Regions from separate parts of the Homo sapiens genome. Here region 1 is linked to region 2. Evidence: promoter capture Hi-C in 16 types of primary human blood cells and fetal thymus (Javierre and others, 2016). All regions are on one chromosome and are shown on one strand. The core of a region is centred on a gene start or on the middle of the fragment in contact, and the rest is flanking DNA. Distances in the headings are between cores, read along the strand shown.

Region 1 (6,075 bases), core at 1,856-4,355, 260 kb before region 2:
ATCATTCTGTCTCCACTTCCTCATCCCCCATCACCTCTTGAATCCACTCTATAGAAACTGTTCTTGTGAAGGTTACTGTAATAGGGTTTTCCAGCAAAATGAATTCATGGTGGGCCATCTTTTGATCCATGTTTCAGCCAGCCAACCAAACAAAGTGTTAGAGCCCCTTCTACCTCCCTGAGCTGTGACATTAAATATAGAATCTCTGCTTAATTGGCCATCTTAAGATGTTTGGCCTGATCCAGCTTTATATTCCTTCCCTTATCCCACACCTTTAAGATTCATTCCCCGTATGTCATGAATTTCTGCTGGCATAAGTTAGAAACTCAAGGTCTTTGGGACTGTAGCATACTTCCTTATGCGACCCACTTTGTAGCTCACCTTTAGGGGCTTGATAGGATTCAAGTCGAGTTATAGGTCCAGAACCAAAAAAAAAAAACAAAAACGGGGGGGTGGTGGGAGCGAGTCCTGAGAAGCATCATGGTGTCTTGTTGGCGGCTGCCTCAGGGAAGGCCATTATTGTTTTCTCAGGTGATGCAGGATTATTCCCCTCAGACAGTGGGGAAAAGACCAATACCTCTGAGGGGGCCACTTCCATTGTGGGTAGGGAGGCCACTTTACTGGCAAAAAGGACTTATCTGATTTTTTTTTAACTTAATTTTATTTTTTTTGAGACAGGATCTCACCCTGTCACCCAGGCTGAAATGTAGTGGTGCGATCTCAGCTCACTGCAGCCTCAGCTTCCCAAGCTCAGGTGATTCTCCCACCTCAGTCTCCTGAGTAGTGGGGACTGCAAGCCACATACCACCATGCCTGGCTAATTTTTGTATTTCTTATAGAAATGGGGTTTTGCCATGTTGCCCAGGCTGGTCTCGAACTTCTGGGCTCAAGCGATTGGCCCACCCCGGCCTCCCAAAGTGCTAAGATTACAGATGTGAGCCACCATGCCCAGCTTCATCTGAATTTAAGAGGTGAATATCCCCAGCTTTATTAGGGTCTTCTCAGTATCCTCATCCCATTTATAGGATCTTTCCCAACCAATGCTGTCACTTTACCAGTAGACACCATTCAAGGCTGATAATTCACCTGTCGTTGTAACTCAACCAATCACATGATGAGGACTTGTGTTTCATTTTCAGCAATTTCAGCCCTGTGGCTACAGGATAGAAGATTCTCCTTTAGGGCACACAGGGAAGGTCTCAGAGGTTATTCACATGGAGCTGGATCCAGAAATTTGAATCCCTGAGTACATTCTTTTCATTCATCACTTTATCCAGCTACATTAGGAGCAACCAACCAATATCACTATATTCCTTAGTTTTCTATGAATGATTGGAAATATCATATCCAAGGTCACTAAGTTCCTTGCCTTTTATAAGTGATTAAGAGTACCCAATGCAGATTGTGTACAAACAATTCACACCATGAACTATCAATGTCTCTGTACTATTGGAAATAGATCCTTAAAATTCTTAAGTCTAGTCATATTGGAGAGCCAATTCCAGAAACCTCAAACCCAGTCGAGGAAACTCATCCTTAAAATTCTGTTCCCCTAGAACCACTCCTGATACCAAAATCTCTATTAGGCAGGGTTCTCCAGAGAAACCAATAGGATATGGAGAGAGAGAGGGAGAGAAATAGACGAAAGGGGATTTATTAGGGGAATTGGCTCATGCAATTAAGAAGGCTGAGATGTCCCATGATAGGTCATCTGCAAGCCGGAGAACAGGTGAGCTGGTATCATGGCTCAATCCATACCCAGAGGTCTCAGAACCAGGGGAGCTAATGGTGTGACTCTCAGACTGAGACTGAAGGCCTGAGAACCTGGAGGGCCACTGGTGCATGTCCCACAGTCCAAAGACCAAAGAATCTGGAGTTCCGATATGAAAGGGGAGGAGAAAAAGTGTGTCCCAGTTCCAGAAAAGAATTTGCCTTTCCTCTGTCTTTTTGTTCTATCTGGGCCTTCAGCGCATTATACAGTGTCCACCCACACTGGGTGAGAGCGGGTCTTCCTTACTTAGTTCACTGTTTCAAGTGCCAGTCTCTTCTGGAAACAACCTCACAGACACATTGAGAAATAATGCTGTACCAGCCGTCTGGGTAGCCCTTAAGCCAGTCAAGTTGACACATAAAATTAACCCTCACAGATCTCCATTGGCCTCCATGTTTCAAATCCATTGGTCAATTCCCAGCCTCACTTTATTTTACCTATCAGTAGCAATGGACATAGGTCAGCATATCATGTTTTATGAAAAAATTTTTTCACTTAGTTTCTACCACCCCATATTTTCTGCTTTGCTTCTTACATCACAGACTACTTTTTCAGTCTCTTTTCCTACCTCCTCCTCCTCTTCCTGAGTCCTAATGGTTAATAGGCTTCAGGCCTTTAGCCTCACTCCTCAGGCCTCTTCTCTTCTTGCTGTAATCATGCCAAAGTAGTCTCACCTAGTACGATAGGCCTAAATCATCTATGTGTTTATACTTCCCATATTCATATATAGAGCTCCAAATGCTCCTCTGCTCAATAGACTTATTTATCTGCTTGCCCACTTGACATCTCTACTTGAATATGTAAATGACCTTCTGCAACTTAATAGGTCCCAAACTAAACTCTTGGCTTCCCTCCTCCTCCAAACATGCTCCTTCCAACACTTTCCCCATCAGTAGATGGCGTGAGTACTCAAACCAAAACCCTTAAAGTCATTCTTAATGTCCTCTTCCCCCCAGCACACATCCACTACATTTAATCCATTGGTAAATATGATTGACTCAAACTTCAAACTATATCCCAGATGTAGCTACTTCTCACCATCTCCATTGTTAGCATCTGATGCAAACTGCTATATTCCTTCCAGATATTAGTGCAACATCTGCCAAACTGGTCTCTCTTCCACATCTACCCACTCTGTGTCACATTGCTCCCCTAATTAAACCCTCTAATGGGTTCCAAATGACAAGAAAAACATTCAAAATACTTACTGTGAACTAAAAAGTCCTCCGTGGCCAAAGCTTCAAATGCACCTCCTTCCTCTCACCTTCCCCTCTGCAGTCTTCTGTGAGGCCCCAGAATGCGCTCTGCTGCCACACAGCCCATTAGCTTACCCCCAAAAAAGGCTGACCCTCACTCAGTATAGCAACTCACCATCAGAATGAGCCAAACAAAGGAATAAATATATCCCCTCTGGGCCCTGACATAATGGGGAAGCTTAATCCTCAGCTTGGTAAATGCCACAGCCACAACCATGACCAGCTGAATCTTCAAGGCAGATCAAATGACTTTCAGGGATGGTTCTGAACAAGTCCCAGCTGGAGGGCCAAGCAGTTTTGTGAAAGACCGACTTTTCTATACAACAATTATGAAAATTCTCTTCCTCGCAATAATTCTTTGCATTTGACCACTGTCCATAGCTGAGGCTTGGAGAAAGTCCCATGGTGAGGAAAAGGAATTGCTAAAGTGGCTTAGGATTTCCGGCTTTCACAAGTTATCATCTTCAAGCTTACAGTCTGTCTCTTCCCCTGTGATCTGGGGTCTTTGTGACCTCAAGATAACTGACTTCTAGATTAGCCTCAAGACTTCCCCACTCTGACTTCTCTCACAGCCACCTAAGGTTTTACTGACATGCCTCAGCCCTGCCCCGTCCAGGCTCAGCCCCAGAGGTGTTGAGAGTTAGACATTTATCATACCTAATAACTTAAAAAAAAAAACTGGCTATTTTGAAATCATGAAGATATAGGTACCTTTAGGGGTGATATTTGCCAATTTCATGGTAAATACATTAGTGTATTTCTTGCCAGTTCACAGTACATGAGTAAAGGTGATGTCTGAGATTAAGAGGCAGTTGTTTGCTATCAGAACAAAGCAAGTTAACTACTACACAAATAAAAATAAAATGATCCTGATACTACATAACAAGTACTGAAGCTGGGAAGCCAAATTCAAGCTCAGGCTCAAATTCAGTTTCCTTACAAATCTTACTCAAATTTGTGCTCATCCACCTTTTGGGCATATACAAATTCTTACCTCTACATTGCCACGGAAAATCTCTCAGAGAAGACCTCAAGTTTGGCCAATCGATCCAGGTTAATGGCTTTGATATTGAAACCCTGGAATCCAGCTAGCAGTCATTAAATCAGAAAACAGTAACAAAGAAATAAATAAAATAGTCGAGAAACTTGTAACTATTGCAATATAAATTTAAAAAAAAAACAAACGAATCTTTACTTCCATGAATCTCAAAGTGGCATTTTTGAGGATGAAATCATTGAACTTCGCAAGCCTTACCTTGACTTGAACATGAATCATTCCAACACATCTCTAAGCAGCTGTCAGTTACTCTAATTTCCACCATGCAGAGAAAGAAATTGAGGTATCTCACAGAGGTAGGGTGCCTAACTCACAGCCACACGGCAAATTGTGGGCAAAATTAGAATCAGAATCCCAGCCAACTAATCTGTGATTATGGAATCAATCTGCCAAATGATGCAAGATGTAATTAAATAAACGCCTATGCACATGGCACTGTGCATTTAGTAGGCGCTCAATAAATTTCATGGAATGAGTGAATGAAAACAAAATGCAAAACAAATATGTTACACTATGACCTTAACCAAGTGTGCTATACTAAGTTCCTAAAGAAAGAAGATTAGAACTGGCATACACAGGAAAAACCTAGAGGGATACTATCTATATCTAATGTCAGTTCTGCCTCCTTTCCTGAGAACAAGATCCGTTTGCCCATCAATCCAAGCAGATTCATCCTTCTTCCAGTTACTGAGCGAACTTACACAAGTGAGCTTTTTTTTATGCCATGTTAAGGGTTGGCTACTTCTCTCCCCTGAAACTTCAGGGAAGTAGGAGGAAGTCCAGAGACCACCAAGAAAAGAGCACTTTTAAATTCAGATATTGTAAACATGCTGTGTCTTTTCCTTCTTAATTGTTGCTTTGGTGTTTTGCTATGTTTCAGTGACTGCCTGAAACTGTATGGCTGTTATTACCAGTTATGCCAAAAAAAATCATAAGTTCCTTTAGAAGCTGACAGATAATATATCCTGTGTGGATCTTTCCTGGGTGGGGGGGACCTTTCTGGTGCTAAAGTGTCACATGACCATAAATACTCCTTGGCTACACCTTTAATTTTTTTTTTTTTTTTTTGGTTTTGTTTTTTTTGAGACAGGGCCTGGCTCTGTTGCCCAGGCCAAAGTGCAGTGGCTTGATCTCAGCTCACTGCAACCTCTTCCTCCCAAGCTCAAGCCATCCTCCCACCTCAGCCTCCCTAGAAGCTGGGACCACAGCCACCACACCTGGCTAATTTTTGTAATTTTTATAGAGACGTGGTCTCACTTTATTTCCCAGGCTGGTCTTGAACTCTTGAGCTCAAGCAATCCACTCACCTCAGCCTCCCAAAGTGCTGCGATAACAGGTGTAAGTGACTGTGCCCAGCCTAAACTATTAAATGTGATGGCTATCCAGTGATATACTTTGACATTCTTTCTGTTGTTGTTTTGATTTTTTAGTAATGGAATATTTTATTGTATTATTTTTATTTATTTATTTATTATCATTATTACTGAGACAGGGTCTCACTCTGTCACCCAGTCTAGAGTGTAGTGGCGTGATCACAGCTCACTCATGATCATGGCAGCCTCAACCGTCCTGGGCTCAGGTGATCCTCCTGCCTCAGCCTCTCAAGTAGCTGGACTACAGGTGCCTGCCACCATGCTTGACTAATTGTCATCGTTTTTCATAGAGATGGGGTTTCACCATGTTGCCCAGGCTGGTTTTGAACTCCTGGACTCAAGCCATCCTCCTGCCTCAGCCTCCTGAAGTGCTGGATTACAGGTGTGAGCCACCATGCTCGGCTATTTATTTATTTATTTATTTATTTATTTTTAAAGAAACAAGGTCTCCCTCTGCCACCCAGACTGGAGTGCAGTGGCACATTCATGGCTCACTGAAACCTTGAACTCCTGGGCTTAAGCAATCCTCCTGCCTCAGCCTCCCCAGTAGCTGTGACTACAGGTGTGCACTACCACACCTCGGTAATATTTTTTTTAATTTTTTTAAAGACAGGATCT
Region 2 (6,558 bases), core at 3,428-5,927:
CCAGGGTAGTGCAAAGAGCATGGACATTGAAGAACTGCACTTGCGTAAGCTGTAACTTTGAACTTATTTTCCTAAAAAATAGGCATCCAGGATCTACTTCTGAAGCTTGATGTGTGGGTCAGCATAGACAATGTAGGTGAGATAAAATGAAAGCTGTTGGGAAGGTATAAAATACTATCAAAATAAAGAAGTCTAAATTGATATTCAAAGGCTATCTGACTATCTCTGCCTTTTTAGAGAATGCTTGTTTTCCAGGTCCGTGTCTTAGCCCTCCCAGACCCATCTCTGCTCTTTATAGATAAAGTTGAGTGACTTTCCCAAGATTACAAAGATCAAGAGTGGCAGACCAAGGACATCTCTCACTTGAAAACTAGGGCTCTTTTCACTGTAGCCAGCTCTTTGTTGGGAAATCTTCATAATCAGTGTCACCTTCTGTGCTCCAACTCCTCAGCCTCACGCTTGGGTGAACACTTCCTTCCCTTCTTGACCATTGCAGGCTAGTGCCATTCTCTTCTTCAGTTTTCATTGCTGGGATGTCTTGCAGCATGATGCCTTAGCTGTTCTGTATCTATGGGGGTCCATCATTTTCCCCTTAAGGATCTTCTCCTATAGGGTGCAATTATGCAGTTATCTTACTGGCTCATCTCTATTTTCTGCTATAACTTTTGAAGTGCATCACCGTCTCTAACTGTTTGTACTGGCGGCTCAGAGAATTTCCTTGAGCAAAGTGCATTTCTGAAGCCAAGTCCCAGCACTGCCATGTCTTTTGATGCCCTTGGTCTCCTTTCTCAGATGTGAGTAAAAATATTGGTGTTAATTACATAGGCTTGAGATACATGCAAAGAAGAGGGTGAAGACAGCCGTGACCTCTGAAAGAGAGGCATAGGTCAGTAAAAGATGCATTCATTCCAAAGACTGCTGCTTGTCCTGTGTTGGGCCAATCCTTTTCAGCAAGGTAATTTAAATTTAAAGTCAGCATTCTCCTGATTCTGTTTCCTAAAGGTTCCAGCTTTCATAGGATGGGTACACTTCACTCCCAGGCCTCCTGGGAGGCCTCCTCTACCCTTCCTCTACCGTTTTCTTGCTTCTCCCTAAAAACCTTGAAGATATGGAATACTTCCTGCCTACATCTTCAACTCAGAGACCGCCAGGGGATTTCAGTGTTTATTGCTTTTTTCTCTGGGTTTGGAACAGTTCCGACCAGGTACTATTTGAAAAATGTAGAAGTATTTTTTTGCTTATTATCAAAAGGAGAATGTAGTTTTCTTGCAACAAAATGAGAACTTGATATCTTTCTTGCCTCGAGGGTGTGTGTTGGGAGACGGGGGTGGTGTTCAGCCTTCTCTTCCTCCACCTCTGTATCCTGGTAGCCAGAATTGAAGTTCCAAGCCACACCAAGGAGGGTGGCTGCCTTTCATGAAAGGCAGACATGTAGTAATTACCTTTTTGCCTATCTGCCGCCGTCCCCTTGTGCTGAGGGGGTTCCCTTGCCGCTCTGTCTGTTGTCTGCACACTGCATTTGTTTGTCTGGAATGCAGAACTCCTTGCACTTGACAATCACTACAGTCTTTCTGCTTTTTCTCTTAAACAGCTTTTTTAAAGCACCCAGAGACCCTTAAAAAAAAAAAAAGAATGCAAATAGAAATTGCGCTGGAAGCTGAACTGAACATTGTTGCGAGTCATGAGATCCCAGCCACACTGGGACAAACTATTTTTTATTTTGGGTAATATTTTTTCTTTGGCATTTATTACACCTCTGTTAAACACAGCTCATGTGACACAGTGTTACTCATAGGCAATCAGAAAAAAGCTGAAAGTTGAGCCATTAGTAGGGCAGGGCAACTTATTGTTAATAGCAGCCATTAAAGCTGAAAGGAAAAATTACCCATCTGCCCCCGCCAGACCTGTCTGTCTGAGATCGAGATTGGGCCTCCAGGCCGGAAGGGGGGCTGGGCAAACATGAGGGAAGGAGAATGGAATGTAGAAACCGAGATCTTTGTAAGGGAAGATAGAGCTGAATTCAAGTGTGGGCCCTACCCCAAGAATAGGGGGGAAAAAAATCCTGCCCCAAGAATTCCAGCTGTCCTTTGTCTGTTCATCCTTTCTCAGGAAAGCACCTGATAGCTTTTATCCAAAGATCTGCTGCAAAATCCATTTTAGCTACAGACAGGAAATGCAAAAGAAAGATTCCTGTAGCAACAACACCTTGTAATTATGAAATACTTTCCATCACAGTGCATAACATATAGCAGATTTACTACACCAAAATTCTTTGCCGTTAGATCTTGGGGTACAGCAGTGAAATTTTCTCTATCTTTAAAAGAACATGTGGTTTAAACCCCTTTCAGGCATTTTAAATCCTAGCCAAAGGTGCAACACCGTTTACCAACTCTGACAAGCCACTCTAAAAGTGTGCTTGTTTGATGGGGCCATATCAGATATCACATAGGAAAATAAATTTGAGAGGGCTTTGCCACGAGTATGTTTATAAAACTCACAACTGGTCTGGAAAAAGAAAGGCAAGTGGCCCATTTTACAGATGGTGCTAACACACTCCAGTGCAGAGAGTGACTGTTGTCACCAGGATCACATATCAATTTGGAAAATTGTAATAGAAACCAGACTTGTGGCTTGGAGTATAGCCCCTGAAAGGGACTAGGACAGCCCACTCCCCTGCCCTGTCCTCCTTACACCTTAAAAGGGACAGTGATTGGGGACTATTGCTGCCCCGCGTGCTTTTTCAGGCAGAGATATCAGAATGAGGTCTGAAAGGATAGTTGGGTGGCCCCAGAGAAGACCTCCACGGCTGGCTAAGAGTCTGAGCATTGCTGGCAGTACTTAGCATTTAGGCTACCCTGAGTGCATGCCTGGCTCATGATAAGTGGTTAGGCCTGTCAGAGGCGGGAGGTGCCTGCTGACTCAGACCCAGAGAGGTGACTCCTACTCTTGAGTGTCTGATTTCTCAGATATGACCATATCCAGTTCTGGGCTCCAGCCCTGACCTGTTCCTTGGCTATCAGAACTATCATAAGGCCAGATCAGCTTAACTCATCTCCAAGGTAATTCTTGGTAGATTTTGGTTCCTTCTTGCATTTTGTGGCTTTGTCCCACTAAGAGCAGTTGTTCTCAGCCCTCTGTACTGGTGGCACAATTTTGAATACTGTAATTATTTTGGTTGCATTTTGGAATGAATTTAAAGTTCTCGCAAAGGATCTTCAGCTCCATGTCACTCATCAGAGCTCTTTTCTATTTTCCAGCTCTTGCATATAGGTAACACGCGCACACACACACACACACACACACACACACAGAGTTTTTCTTGATATGCTGTCTCTTGCCTTCCACTGTCAGATCGTAACCTGATAGACTGAATTGAGTGACCCACTCACACTCAGCTCAGCATTCCTATTTCAAACACTGCTGACACACGGTATATCTTCATGTGTACCAGCAATCAGACTGTAGTCAATTAAATTGTTTTGAAAATTAGGTTTATGCACTTATCAGTTGTTTGAGAGTCTGGCAGTTTTGGCCTTAAGAGTTCCCTGTCAAAGACTATGGCGTGAAAGATCACTGCTTTCAGGCTTCTATGCTGTGATTAAATGTGGAGAGTGGTTTTGGGGACATGTGTCTTAAGGGATAAGCTAGTGAGGAATAGGTTGGGACTGGTAGGACGAGCGGCCTGTGGCACATTTCAGAGCCCTCAACCGTACCCCACACTGCATGGGCCATGACTCTCTCTTCACCCATGGATCATCTCTAGAGGGGATTCATGATGTCACCTGGAGTCTCTGCTCTCTCCAAGTGTACTGGAAAGGATTGGGTGTTGGGAAGGCATTGGAAAGCTGGTATTAGAAGAGTTAGCTGGGGAGAGATTTGACTGAAGAGAAGGAAGCGTGTTTGCAGTGTTAACGCAGTGGATCTGCCTCAAGAGGCCCAGAACTTAAGAAAGCCAGGAAGCTATTTTTCTACGACTCCCCATGTTAGTGAAGGCAATTTTTTAACGTGATATCCACTTTGAATTCTTTGATCTTTAAGAAATATGAGTAAGAGAAAAGGATAGATGGCAAGATAGATGAGGAACTTCAGAGGGGGCTAAGATTACTTTAAGGGAAAGCTAATGAGTTGTTGAATTGTTTTACATAGTGGGGTGCTATGAATAGGATGTTAAGGAAAGTTCTTCACAAATAAATGACAGAATAAAAAAAAAATAAACCTAACATAAGACAATTTTCTTTTTCAGCAAGGCACAGGGTTCTTTGGGAAGCTTCAAAAAATTCAAAAGTCATAGTGCCTTTTTTCATGGAATTCACTAAGTAGAGACTTTTTTGTAGGCATATCATTAAATGCTGGACTCTCAAGTTTTCGAAATGAGAAGTCTCCATCTGGGAGGTATAAAAGGAAACCCCCATCTGGTTGGTTTTAGCATCTTCAAGGTGAGGATACAATTCTTAAAATTGTCTACCTATTTCTGAGTCCTGGTTCAAATTCCTTTGTGATGTCTATGTCAGCTGGGACCCTGTAGGCCCCACTGAGTTGCACATCACCAAGTGTGCCCATCACTGTGGTTAGAGGCCGTGGGCTGTGTACTACAGACAATGCTGTAATTGCTTCTGTGACCAAGTGAGGGCGGAGTTTGCCCTTTATGTGATGTAGGCAATATTCTATTTTTAATAAGCCAGAAAAATCTGTTCAAATCCAGTAACTTCAAGATTTTCCAAAGACTGGAAGATGTGGAGGACGTGGGCATCAGCTGGAATCTGATTTCTCTCCCCTCCACACTTGCTCTTCCCCATTTCTCAACTGCTGTCTCCCAGTGTAATTACCATCTCAAGCATTTTCTGTTCGTCCCCTGTAGGTACACCACATCGTGCCAACAACCCATGGCCCAGCAGGAATATACAGTAGCCTTTGCCAGGGTCCACCAGGGCTTGATTACACTTCACGGCTGTAATTCAAGCCTGCTAATCCTCCTCTGCGTTCGGAAAAGAGGCCTGTTCTGTTAGATAAGCTGATTACTGTCTGGTGTGTGCTTCATGCCTAGCAAGAGTTGTTTATATGTGGAATTATTGCTGGCTGGGCTCTGTGCTTCGCTACACCGAGGAAGCTCGCTTAGGGGTCAGGGGTGTCAGGCTTCACCTCTGATCTGGGAGGGGTGAGAAGTGGAGTGTTGATTACAGCTGTTTTTCTCTCAACCTCTGTGCTGGTGGCTAAATATTTACTTTTCTCTGTTAACGGAAGGAGCCAGATAAGATTTTAAGAGTCTGAGACTTTTGCCCCTAGGACCCACTGTCAAAGATCATAGAGTGAAAGATCACTGCCCCAGACTTGCCACATTCTGATTAGGTTTGCAAGGCGATCTTAGTGGTCTTTTTGTCTTTAGGGCTACGTTAGGGAGGACTATGGCGGGACAAGTTGAGTGTGTGGTGAAATCAACAGCCACAGATTGAAGAGTGCCCGACCACAGGGAAAGGATGCCCGCAGAGACCATGTGAATGCTTTCTCACACTCAAAGATGTTTTCTTCAAAGCCACAGAAGCCTTGAAACCACCTTTGCCTCTGCCTACCAGCCCATCTCTGGTCTGGTGTGGAGCTTGTGGCTTGGGTGCAGTCTACGAAGCCCTTGCTCTTCATGGAGGAGGAAGTGCATTTTGTTATAACCGTCTGCCCAGTGATGTTGGCGTGATTTATGCTGGCTGCACTCTCAGGATTCCCATCCCTTTTGCGGGGTATTTTGTCCCCAGATGCAGAGCTGAGGTTCTGCTTAATACTGGCTTTTAAGTGTTTAAGCCCTACAAATGGCTATTCGGTTTAATGGTGTAAGGATGGGGTGAGTGCTGAAACAAGTACAGGTAAACACAAGCACCTGGCCCTTGTCACCTGCTGCATGGGCATACATTGGGGTCTGTTTGTATATTTGAATATGTGGCAGTCTACACTGGAGTAAGGAAATAAGGATGAATGTCAAAAGGCTTAATTGTGATGATATCACAATTGAGGCCATTTGTTGAGTAAACTTCCTCCACATCTCTGTATACTAATAATCGGTTTGTCAGCTTTTCTCTATGACACTATCATTTCCTTTAGGGCAGGCACTTTGTCTTTCATTTCTGTGACCGTTACCTGTCTGGCCCATAGTAACCAATCAAGGAATGGGTCTTTGATTTAGTGTATGAATAATTAATAGATTTCAGTGAAGAGGCAGCCTATCCTAGATTGAATGCGCGGTATAAATTGTTAGGTATTTATCATAGCTCATTGTACGTGGGTTCCTTCCCAGGTACCTTTCTTGCCTTTCTTTCTAGGAAGCAGAGAATCCGCATCCCCAGAAACATGGGTGTTCCTTAGGTGTAAAGGGCATGGCCAGCTAAAGGCAGAACAGAAAAGCTGCTCTGGAAGGGGTACTGGGCGGCTGTGGCATGTGATTTAGAAGGAAGGGGTGCTGTGCTATGTCCTCACTGCTGAGACATCTGGGCCACATAATACCTCTTGATCCACAAATATCTTGAGTGTTATCTCCCTCTTTTCTTTTGCCATTCCCACCCCTCTTTTTCCTTT

The links. The method cuts DNA at HindIII sites, captures the fragments that hold promoters and counts their contacts. A CHiCAGO score of 5 or more calls a contact.
Region 1: a fragment that was not itself captured here is called in contact with the fragment with the promoter of PBX1-AS1 in region 2 in 1 of 17 cell types (megakaryocytes); the score reaches 5.4 in megakaryocytes.

The regions. Positions count from the first base shown.
Region 1 is chr1:164,507,959-164,514,033 of GRCh38, forward strand. No RefSeq gene overlaps it. Among named protein-coding and RNA genes, the nearest start is that of PBX1, 48 kb to the right of the region's middle. The HindIII fragment of the contact is 196 bases long and covers 3,008-3,203 here.
Region 2 is chr1:164,769,964-164,776,521 of GRCh38, forward strand. PBX1-AS1 (PBX1 antisense RNA 1) reads right to left here and starts at 4,678. Exons shown (of 4, transcript NR_038072.1): 1 at 4,466-4,678; 2 at 364-1,614; 3 at 1-153. The region is part of intron 2 of PBX1 (PBX homeobox 1); the gene reads left to right. The HindIII fragment of the contact is 2,806 bases long and covers 4,266-6,558 here.